Linked DNA regions of Homo sapiens: region 1 is linked to region 2. The links are contacts of gene promoters, found by promoter capture Hi-C in human tissues and cell types (Jung and others, 2019). All regions are on one chromosome and are shown on one strand. The core of a region is centred on a gene start or on the middle of the fragment in contact, and the rest is flanking DNA. Distances in the headings are between cores, read along the strand shown. Region 1 has its middle 17 kb from the start of ACTR10. Region 2 holds the start of TOMM20L (translocase of outer mitochondrial membrane 20 like).

Region 1 (5,711 bases), core at 2,253-4,752, 210 kb before region 2:
AAGAAGAAGCAGGAAAAATATTTGTAACAAACATGACACAAAAGAGGTGATTTATTTCATAAATAAAGGGCTCTTATAAATCAAATAAAAGCAGTCAAAAAATCAAAGTGGGACAAGGGGATGAGGAGGCCATTTCCATTACCTGTCATCCATTCTTTGATAAGAACAACGAACAATAGACCTTTTCTCAATCTTATGTAAACTATGGCACAATCACAATTTTAAGGCAAGGTCCTTAGCTTTACCCTTTCCAACAAGGTTGCTTATCTTAAACTCTTTCTGTATAGAAATTCCGGTGTTGCCACTAAAAAGAAGACACTCAATTCAACAGAATAATGGGCAAAGAACATAAGTAGGCAATATAAAACAATCACATAAAAATATATTCAACCCCAGTCATCGTTACAGAAAGTTACATTAAGATAATAATGTGATATCATTTCCCATCTATCAAATGAGTAAAGATTTAAGACTGAAGTTACCCTGTGTTAGAGAAAGTTAGGCAAATGGGCATTCTTATTTATTATTGGTGGGAGTGTAAACTGGTACAACTTTAGGGCTGCATTTAATATATATATACAAAAATATATAGGGGTGTGTGTGTGTGTGTGTGTGTGTGTGTCTGTGTGTGTATGTCTCCTTTACCCAGCAATTCCACTTTTAGAAATTTATCTTATAGATATACTTGTATATACATACTATAAGTATATATGCATACTATAATGTATCTTATAGAAATACTTGCATATACAAGTACACAAAGACTACATATGTATGTATACGTTATATATGTGTGTGTGTATGTGTGTGCGTGTGTGTGTGTGTGTATATATATATATATATATATATATATATATATATATATATATATATATATTTTTTTTTAAGAATGTTCATTGTGGCCGGGCGCGGTGGCTCACGCCTGTAATCCCAGCACTTTGGGAGGCCGAGGCGGGCGGATCACGAGGTCAGGAGATCGAGACCATCCTGGCTAACACGGTGAAACCCCGTCTCTACTAAAAATACAAAAAAATAGCCGGGCGTGGTAGCGGGCGCCTGTAGTCCCAGCTACTGGGGAGGGTGAGGCAGGAGAATGGCGTGAACCCGGGAGGCGGAGCTTGCAGTGAGCCGAGATCGCGCCACTGCACTCCAGCCTGGGCGACAGAGCGAGACTCCGTCTCAAGAAAAAAAAAAAAAAAGAATGTTCATTGTAGGACAGATGCGGCGGCTCACATCAGTAATCCTAGCACTTTGGGTGGCTGAGCCAGGAGGATCACTTGAGGCATTCGAGACCAGCCTGGGCAAAATATAGTGGGACTCCATCTCTGCAAAAAAAGTTTGTTTTTGTTTTTGTTTTTTTTTTTGAGATGGAGTCTTGCTCTGTCACCCAGGCTAGAGTGCAATGGCGCCATCTCAGCTCACTGCAACCTCCACCTCCCAGGTTCAAGCGATTCTCCTGCCTCAGCCTCCCAAGTAGCTGGGATTACAGGCGCCACGCCTGGCTAATCTTTGTATTTTTAGTAGAGACGGGGTTTCACCCTGTTGGCCAGGCTGGTCTCGAACTCCTGACCCCAGGTGATCCACCCGCCTCGGCCTCCCAAAGTGCTGGGATTAGAGGCATGAGCCACCATGCCCGGCCATTTTTGTTGTTGTTGTTGTTTGTTTTTTGAGACGGAGTCTTGTACTGTCGCCCAGGCTGGAATGCAATGGCGCGATCTCAGCTCATTGCAACCTCCACCTCCTGGGTTCAAGTGATTCTCCTGCCTCAGCCTCCCAAGTAGTTGGGATTACAGGCGCCCACCACCTTGCCCAGTTAATTTTTTGTATTTTTAGTAGAGGCGGGTTTTCACTGTGTTGGCCAGGCTGGTCTTGAACTCCTGACCTCGTGATCCGCCCGCCTCAGCCTCCCAAAGTGCTGGGATTATAGGCGTGAGCCACCACACCTGGCCCAAAAAAAGTTTTAAATTAGCCTGGCGTGGCTGGGCGCGGTGGCTCACACCTGTAATCCCAGCACTTTGGGAGGCCGAGGCAGGCAGATCGCCTGACGTCGGGAGTCTGAGACCAGCCTGACCAACATGGAGAAACCCCGTCTCTACTAAAAATACAAAAAAAAAAAAAAAAAAAAAAAATTAGCCGGGCATAGTGGTGCACGCCTGTAAATCCCAGCTACTCAGGAGGCTAAGGTAGGAGAATCTCTTGAACCTGGGAGGTGGAGGTTGCAGTGAGCCGAGACAGTCCCACTGCACCCCAGCCTGGGCAACAAGAGCGAAACTCCATTTAAAAAATATATATATATAGCCTGGCGTGGTGGCATGTGCCTAGCTACTTGGGAGGCTGAGGTGGGAGGATCACTTGAGACCAGGAGTTTGAGGATGCAGTGATCCAGCCTGAGTGACAGAGCTAATCTCTGTCAAAAAAAAAAAAAAATTCACTGTGGTTTTTGATAATAGAGAAAAACTAAAAATAATCTAAGTCACTAAAAGGACTCTGCTAAAAAAAAATAATAATACATCCATGAATCCATGAAAACTATGGCTATTAAAAAGGAAGAGGTGAGAGAATATATATAGACTTAATTTGATTTTTTAAGGTAACTTCAGTGAAAAAAAATAAGTTTTAGAAGCAATTATCACATTCATGTAAAATAATGTGTGAGTTTGTACACATAGAAAATATCCAAAATGTGAGAGTGGTGAGCTACATGGAGTCATATTGAAGGAGCAGAGGACTGTATTGGGGAAAGGACACATTTTACTTGATATACTTCTGTGCAATATGAATATTTTTCCAAAGAAAAAAGTTAATAAGATGTGTTTTTATCCTATGTATGAAAAATGCTTGAATATTGTCAAAAACTACAAAGCCTGTTTGAACTTTTCTAGAAAAATTAAATTATACTTTGGAGGAAAAAATTATTTATGCTTTAAAATCAAAACATTTGCCAACTTTATTTAGACATTTTTTAATGTCCTCTTTGCCAAACTAGAAATAAACACTGAATCATAGTTAAGTGATAAAATTAGAAAGAAATGCTACCCTAGGATGATATGTTTAGTGATATATTTGTACAGTGATAGACGTTGATGGGTAAGTACAAAAGAAAACTACAACTGAGAAGAAGTGTGTGGCATTAATCAACATGAGACCCAGTGAAATAACTCAATTCTTGTCAGTTTTCTTCCTGATTGCCTTCTCTCACATGCAAAAGGGAGTATCATCCAAAAATTAAAGTATTTCTCTCCAGGCCATTTGAAACTAGATGCTAATTACTTTGTTTTTTTAGAGACAGGGTCTCACTATGTTGCCCAGACTGGTCTGGAACTCTTGGCCTCAATCACTCCTCCTGTCTCAGCCTCCCAAGGGGCTGGGATTACAGACATGAGCCACTGCATGTGCCTGGCCATGCTAATTGTTTTTTATAAGGCAGCTGACAAAAGTCATGTTAAAAACCAGAACAAAGAAAGGATCAAGGGAATTACTCTCTTATAGTTTACTAGGATAGACCTCAATGTAATGAACTTTGTAGGCAGTTTACTGTGCAGTGGTAATTTAGGGCAACAAGTCTGGATCTCTCCTCTGAAGGTTAGTTGGCTGGTCTTCTTTATAAACAAGGGGGAAAATTACAGACTCTGTTTTACTCATTCATTATATGCTTAATTCATTCATTGTTCTATGCATCATTGATCGATTTTTTTTAAAATTTATTGAATACTTTGTATGTTCAGCTCTGAGAATAAGAAGTTAAAACACCATCCTTAGACTCAAATATTTGGAAGACCAAGGGTGGATAAGAAAAGAGGAAAATTACAAAACAAAGTAATAAAAGGTTTGTACAGAAAGTGAAGGGAACCCAAAGGAGAAGCACTAGTAAAAATTGGAGGGCCAGGGAAGACTTCCTAACAAAGGGAATGTCTGAACTGAGTCCTGAAGGATGAAGGTGTTCCAGATAGGGAGAGGGAACAGTGTGCTAAGTCATAGGGGCGAACTGAAAAAACACACACATTTTGGGAAATACTCATAGTTCACTACTATGTTAGCAGAGTTCTAAGAGGGGAATGGTAAGGCCAGGGAGAGATGAGCAGGGGTCAGGTCATGAGGGACTTTGTTTGTCATACTGAGAGATCTGGAATTCATTTGGAATTTGTCCTGATGATTATGGGTTTTAAGCAGGAAGATGACATGATGAGGGCTGGGTTTTAGAAAGATGTCTTGGGCAGCAGTGTAAAGAAATAAAACTAGGTGAGAAATATGAAGGGATAGTATGATACTTAAAGGCAGGAAAATTAGTGAGGAAGCAGTTGCAGTAACATAGGAAGGAGATGCTGAGGGCTTTTACTTTGTAGAGGACATACCAAATAGCAGATGAAGATGCTGGTTCTTTGACTAAACTCTGATGCGCTGGGAAAGACAATCAAGTCAGGGACTGAGGCAGTTTATAGAATCCTTTCTCAGCGATGGCTAGGGCCTTGGCAGCAAGGCCTAGGACAAGGAGTGGTCCTTGGTATACAAGCTGGGCCACCTGGCCAAGGCCATGGAAATTACTTCCTTGGAGGGGATCTCTTTCTGCTTATCAAGGAGTCTGAGGGGTTTATTTCCCCCCTCTCCTAGGGCAATCACTCAAGGTCCTGAAGAAGATCCAGGCTGAAGGCATTTGTGGCCATTGGGTTGATGTGGCAGTCTATTTTTTTTTTTTTTTTTTTTGAGACAGAGTCTCGCTCTGTCACCCAGGCTGGAGTGCAGTGGCGCTATCTCCTCTCACTGCAAGCTTCGCGTCCCAGGTTCACGCCATTCACCTGCCTCAGCCTCCCGAGTAGCTGGGACTATAGGCACCCGCCACCACACCCAGCTAATTTTTTGTATTTTTAGTAGAAACAGGGTTTCCCTGTGTTAGCCAGGATGGTCTCAATCTCCTGACCTCGTGATCTGCCCACCTCGGCCTCCCAAAGTGCTGGGATTACAGGTGTGAGCCACCGTGCCCGGCCAGATGTGGCAGTCTAGCTGCTTCATGGAAGTCAATGGTGCCATCATCTTGACCAAGATAGCTTAATTCCTGTGAATTGTGCTAGGAGAACAAGATTAACAAGCACTTCATGCTTGCCAGGTGATACTCTCTTTTAAGGTGACAGGGTGCTGGGTCTCATTAGGGATGCATCTTACTCTTGCCCCTAAATGAAGTGACATTATCTCTCTGTTCTTGTGCCTAAGAGACTTCTGCTGATTACTGACATCAATAACTGCTATACTTCTGCCAGGAACTGCACTCCTACTTGGACAACTTGGCTAAAGTCATCTTTGATGCCATCTCCAAATCCTACAGGCTATCTGACCCCTGAACTCTGGAAAAAGACAATATTCACCAAACCTCCCTCTCACAGATTTACTGATCATAAAGACTCAAGTGACAATGCAAAGAACCTAAAATCTTTGTATGGCTACCATGCTGTGTTCATATACAAGTAAAATTCAAGAGAGAGTGGGAAAGAAAGATGATGAAGGCCTGAACTAATGTAGTAGTAGTAAGGATGGAGAGAAGGGGCTATGATCTGAAGGTTTATGTCCCCTCAGATTCATGCATTGAAATCCAAACCCCCAAGGTGATGGTATTAAAAGGTGGTACCTTTTGGGAGGTGATTAGGTCATGAAGGCAGAGCTCTCATGAATAAGATTAGTTCCCCAATTTTGAGAAAGAAAAAAAAAAGCCCCAGGGAGCT
Region 2 (6,401 bases), core at 1,432-3,931:
AGGTCAGGAGTTCAAGACTAGCCTGGCCAACATGGTGAAACCCCATCTCTATTAAAAATACAAAATTAGCTGGGCGTAGTGGTGCACGCCTGTAATCCCAGCTACTCAGGAGGCTGAGGCAGGAGAATTGGAAATCGTGCCATTGCACTCTAGCCTGGGCAACAAGTGAAACTCCATCTCAAAAAATAATAATAAATAAATAAAAGAAAGAGAGCTATCATCCAGCATAGAACCATGTTTTGAAGACAACTATTAGTGCTATCTCAATATGAAAATTATCAAAGCTTTATAGGAATTCTGATCACCAAATTAGCAAGAGTGGTGCCTATATCTGAGAAGAAAATATCTACCTGTCCCATAGAAACTTGCCTAATTTTTCAATTATGTTTCCTCATGGCCTCTCTCTCTGGCAATTTCAACTTTAGAAATCTGTTTATTCCTAATTGCTGTAATAATTCTCCTACTTTTATGTGTCACTGTTTACTTTGCTCCTGAATACCCAGCTAATCTCAACAGTTTCTCTCGCTCCATCCCTCTCCATTTACCACAGGCATTAACTATGTGAAAGGGAAGGTGAAAGATGGGAAGAAAGCCACAAGATTGGTGGTCTTAGAAGACAAGTTGCCGTCAACCTAAAGAAAGATCAATTGAAGCTGGGCTAAACCCTTGCCAAGATTCTGAACCAGTCCCTGATCACCAGTAATACTTACAAGATGCTGACACTATCCTCTCCTCTGTGTTTACAATCAGGTTTTCACAATAACCAAGTTCCCTTCTAGAAGACAATTATCATGAGAAAAAACATACAGTACTCAAGAAAGCATGATATGTAACTTACCCCTGCTAACTCTTAAATTTTGAGGGCTGAGGCTACTACTCAGACCCATTGGTTTTTTAATCTATCTACTAATTTATAATTTACCTATCTATCTCTATATATATATATATATATATATATATATATATTTTTTTTTTTTTTTTTTTGAGACAGAGTCGCACTCTGTTGCCCAGGCTGGAGTGCAGTGGTGTGATTGATCTCAGTTCACTGCAACCTCCCCGCCTCCTGGGTTGAAGCAATTCTCGTGACTCAGCCTCCCAAGTAGCTGGGATTACAGGCTTGTGCCACCATGCCCAGCTAATTTTTGTATTTTAAGTAGAGATGAGGTTTCACCATGTTGGCCAGGCTGGTCTCAAACTCCTGACCTCAGGTGATCCACCCACCTCGGTCTCCCAGTGCTGGAATTACAGGCGTGAGCCAACACGCCCAGCCACCTATGTATTTTTATAGAGACAGGGTCTCATTCTGTCACCCAGGCAGGAGTGCAGTGGCAGTGATCAGAGCTCACTGCAGCCTCCAACTCCTAGGCTCAAGTGATCCCTGCAGAGTAGCTAGGGCTACAGGTGCACACCACGACCAGTATTTTTTTGTTTTGTTTTATCGAGACGGAGTCTTGCTCTGTTGCCCATGCTGGAGTACAGTGACACAATCTCAGCTCACTGCAACCTCCGCCTCCCGGATTCAAGCAGTTCTCCTGTCTCAGCCTCCCAAGTAACGGATTACAGGCACATGCCACCACACCCAGCTAATTTTTGTATTCTTAGTAGAGACAGTGTTTCACCATGTTGGCCAGGCTGGTCTCGAACTCTTGACCTTGTGATCTGCCTGCCTCGGCCTCCCAAAGTGCTGGGATTACAGGCATGAGCCATTGTGCCCGGCCCTTGTTTTGTTTTTTTAGAGATGGGTTCTTGCAATGTTGCCCAGGCTGGTTGGTCTCCAAGTCCTGAGCTCAAGTGATCCTCCCACCTCAGCCTCCCAAAGTGTTGGGATTTCAGTTGTGAGCCACTGCACCTAGCTAGACCCACTGGTATTCAGAGCAGTGATGAGCACCTTGCTATGCACACACTAGTAATAACAGTAAATTGTAAATCAGTAAATAGCAATTGTATAACCTAAATAAAAATGAATTATCTAGTTCTTTAGGTCCCTAGCTTATGCCTTTTCTCCTCCTTAGTAGAAAAGTCAGAACTCTGGTATTTAGGACAAAGTCTTACCTTCTTTCTTTCTGCTGTGTCCGCTGAGTAAGGCAAATATTAGAAAAGCAGCTAGGCCAGTATCATGGGACTCTCAGTTGTTTTTGCTTTGGGACCTTTGACTGTCAGTCTCAGCCCAGCAATTTAACGTATTTTTCTAGATTAAACAGTGTTGCTTCTGAATTCCTCCCTTGGACCTTGGACTGCTGGGTCCTTTCAGGAGACAAAGGATACCAGATTGGGGAGTACGGGCTACTGTTAGACAATGTGAACTAGGAGGTGACCAAAGTTGACCTTAGAGTCAACTTAATTTTGCAGGTGAGGGAACAGAGACCTAAACGACCACTGGCTCCCAGTAAAGCAGATTCGCAGCATACTGTGCTTTGCCTGAATGGGTGTTGTAGACACAGGGGCAGAGGCGTGTTTGGAGAAAGGGTTCAGAATTTGGAGTGCGACAGACGTAGGTTCGAACAGAGCTCTGCTACTCTGTGGCTGTGAGGGCTCCCGCACACACCCTCTCGAACGCTCGGCTTCCTCATCGGTCCGCAAGCCTGGGTGCGAGGCGTCAACGCGCAGCTGGGTGCGCAGGAGGCCCCGAGGCCGGATGGGCCGCCGCGCCGACGCCCCCTGCCGGCCGGCCCGCGCCCAACGCTCGGCTTGTGGGACGCCCGCGGTCGGATGCCCTCCGTCCGCTCCCTCCTCCGCCTCTTGGCCGCCGCGGCGGCCTGTGGCGCCTTCGCCTTCCTGGGCTATTGTATTTACCTCAACCGGAAGCGGCGCGGGGACCCCGCGTTCAAGCGCCGCCTGCGGGACAGTGAGTGGGACCGAGGCGGAGGCGCGGCCGGGCCGGGCAGCGCGGGCGGGCTGCCGGCCGGGAGGGCCCCCCACTGAGAGGCCGGGCCGTGAGTGCCTCAGCCTCTGCCGAGGGGCCCGCGGCGCCCGGGCAGGCAGGACCACTGGGCCCACGCGTGCCTCTGGACGGGCCTCCCAGCCAGCATGTGCCGTGTTGTGTTCGCAGAAAGAAGAGCAGAGCCTCAAAAGGCTGAGGAGCAGGGCACGCAGGTGCAGTGCTTTCGATCCGCACAGGTAGCTCAGTAGACGCAGGTCCGGGCTCGCTGGGTTGCTTGGCTCCTGGCGGGCTCGGCAGCAGGTAGTTAGTTCCCTCAGCCGCCCGTGCCCGGGAAGAGGCCTGCCCTCGCGCGCCACGCACCGCCTCAGGCCCAGTCACTCTCCTCTCACAAAAGGGAGGGAAGGAAGGAGGAAGAAGTTGGAGTTATAAAAAGGCAGCTGCAAAGCAAAACACTGTACAACAGGCACTTCTTTTAACTGGAAGAAGGAAGAGGAGCCTTTTGCCCTGTCAGAGCCGCACAGGACACTTAAAAACCCAGGCTGGCCACGGTCACATGGCAGTAACTTCTAGATTGTTCTCCCGCAGGGCCTTTCTTGTAGCTCAGAAGCAGAAGGCATCTTCGTGTTTTGTAAATCTCTGCGGCAAAATTTGATTAGTCCCTTTTTTGTTGTTTTTAAGAGGCGGGCCGGGCTTGGTGGCTCACGCCTGTAATCCCAGCACTTTGGGAGGCAAGGCGGGCAGATCACGTGAGGTCAGGAGTTTGAGACCAGCCTGGCCAACATGGTGAAAGCCTGTCTCTACTAAAAATACAAAAATTAGCCGGGAGTGGTGGCGTGTGCCTGTAGTCTCAGCTACTTGGGAGACTGAGGCAGGAGAATTGCTTGAGTCCGGGAGGTGGCAGTTGCAGCCTGGGCGACAGAGCAAGACACTGTCTATAAAAAAAGAAAGAGACAAGGGTGTTCCTATGTTGCCCAGGCTGAACTAGAACTCCTGGCCACAAGCAATCCGCAGTTGATGCTGGATGTTTACTTAGCTGAGATTGTTAGCCAGAGCACCTACACGTCTGTGTGATCTGGGATTCTTCATTTGTGTGATGGGCTGTGTCCCAAGGGACAAGCAAACACATATATGTATGTGTGTATATATATGTGTGTGTGTGTGTGTCTGTGTATAGAGAGAGCACGCACATGCATGTGAACTAGAACATGTGCCCATGTGGAAGAGCAGATGGTACCACTTCTGGCAACATTGAAGCCTACTCAATTTAAAGGGAGAGGAAATAGATTCTACCTCTCAACAGGGATGGCAAGGTTTTGAAAGCACTTGTGTGACCGGGAATATTGCGGTAGCCATTTTTGAAACATGCAGTTTTTCCGGAGAAGACTTTGTAGCGGAAGTGGCATTGAACTGAGCCTGGAAGGATGATGAATTTGTGGCTTGGTTTCAGGGGAGAGGATACAGGATGGAGGGAACAGCATGTGCATAAAGATGCAAAGTGGGGCATCTGCCAAGCACATTCAGTAAACCAGTTTGGCAAAGGAGTCATACTGAGGAATAGTGGGTGGTAAGGTTGGAGAGCGAAAGTAGGATTGAATTAGGGAAGGCTTGCTTTGAAGGCCAGGTTAAGGAACTGAGATTCAATGGAGGAATTACTGAAGATTTCTAAGCAGGAATTTTTTAAAAAGAAGGAAAGAAAGGCAGAAGAGAAATATTCTTAGATTGATCAAGCAGGAGTGTACTTAATGGATTGGAAAAGAAAACAAGCTATTGCAGCAATTTAGTTGAGAGGTAATAAAAATCCTGAACTATGGTGGTGGTAGTGGTAACTGGGAAGAATACAGTTCATGCCGACTGAGTAAAGGGTAATGGAGAGGCGGAGTCAAAGACACTTCCGGGGTTTCAAAATGGAATCACAGTAGAGAATAAAAGCCCATTTGACATAGTTAGCTGGGTAGGGAGTGTCCAAAGAGCTGGACATGGGAGTGGAGATACCTTCCCTGACTTGACTGAGACAGAGCCTGATACAGCTCCATGTCCCTCGTCATTGTCCATGGTTTCACTTGCACATTTGTGTAATTATTTGATTAATGCTTTCCGTTTATTACACTAAGCTGTGTGAGGGCAGACTTTGTTTTTTACTCTCCATTGTTTCCAGTGCCTAGAACAGAGTCTAGTGCGGTAGGTGCCCAGCAAATGTTTGTTGAATATTGTTGTTCATTGTAGGCAGAGGGAAACACCTTGTGCAGAGGCACAGAACATGAAATTGTAATGTTCAAGGAGTATTATGGCCAGAGAGATAGCTGAGGGTCAGTTTAGTGTCTTACCGTGGAGGACTTTGAATGCCAAACTGAAAAGTCAGGACATTTTTCTGTTGTGGTGGATAACTAATGATGGTGACTTTATTTCAGAGAACAGACACAATTATTTTGGTTTTATTTTTTAAATAAGACAATTCTGGTTCCAGTGTGGAGAAAGGAAGTTGAAGACAAGAAAATCAGTCAATGGCAGTTCATATGGGAAATAATAAATGATTTATATTAATATAAATTAATCATATTTTAATTATAATATAATCTAATTATATTCATATTAAGCCATAACTAAGTCACACTATCATTTATTGATATAAATCAATAATTATTAATAATAAATTGTTAATATTATTTCCCATATATGAAATAATAAATTATTTCAAGTGAAGAAGCAGCACAAGCAGGATTTTCAAATGTCCTTTCATATAATTGTCACAACTCTATTCTAATTTTTTTTTTTTTGACACAGGGTCTCACTCTGTTGCCCAGGCTGGAGTACAGTGGCAATGATCACAGCTCACTGCAGCCTCAACCCTTTTGGGGTTAGGTGATTCTCCCACCTCAGTCTCCTAAATAGCTGGGACTACAGGTGCATACCACCATGCCTGGCTAGTTTTTGTACTTTTACAGAGATGGGTTTCGCAACATTGCCCAGGCTGGTCTTGAACTCCTGAGCTCAAGCAGTCTGCCGGCCTTGGCCTCCTGAAGTGTTGGGATTACACGAGGGAGCCACTGTGCCTGGCCTCTATTCTCATTTTACACATGAATAAACCAAAGCAGATAAAGAGTCTCTTCTCACTTTTTCTAGGGTCTTTCTTCCTCTTCTTCCCAGGACTTTCCCAAAGTATGGTCCATTGCTGCATTACATTTACCTGGAGCATCTGTTAAAATATGGATTATTTGACCCTGATCCCAGCAATTCTGATCCAGTAGCCTGGGGAATTCTTACTGGCACAGTGACTGTCAGACTTTAGGATCCATAAGAATCACCTGAAGAGTTTGTTTAAAAATGCAAATTCCTGGGCCCTACTCCCAGAGATTGATTCAGTAGGTCTGGGTGGAGTCCAAGAAACTGCAGTTTTAACAGCTCCTTCAGGTGATGCTTTGTGAAACATGGGCCTTGGGTTCTGTATTCTTCCCCCTCTCCCTAGAAGATCTTTCCCTTCTCCAAAAGTGATTTCAAATGTACTACTCTAGACCTGGTGTCC

What was found. Contacts are between HindIII fragments. The study calls those that stand out against the background at their distance.
Region 1: a fragment that was not itself captured here is called in contact with the fragment with the promoter of TOMM20L in region 2 in 1 of the 25 tissues and cell types used here (spleen).

Annotation. Positions count from the first base shown.
Region 1 is chr14:58,180,120-58,185,830 of GRCh38, forward strand. No RefSeq gene overlaps it. Among named protein-coding and RNA genes, the nearest start is that of ACTR10, 17 kb to the right of the region's middle. The HindIII fragment of the contact is 5,011 bases long and covers 998-5,711 here.
Region 2 is chr14:58,393,249-58,399,649 of GRCh38, forward strand. TOMM20L (translocase of outer mitochondrial membrane 20 like) reads left to right here and starts at 2,682. Exons shown (of 5, transcript NM_207377.3): 1 at 2,682-2,845; 2 at 3,050-3,093. The coding sequence starts at 2,710. TOMM20L-DT (TOMM20L divergent transcript) reads right to left here and starts at 2,457. Exons shown (of 2, transcript NR_187161.1): 1 at 2,053-2,457. RefSeq lists silencers at 2,490-3,009, 3,080-3,129. The HindIII fragment of the contact is 11,412 bases long and covers 1-6,401 here.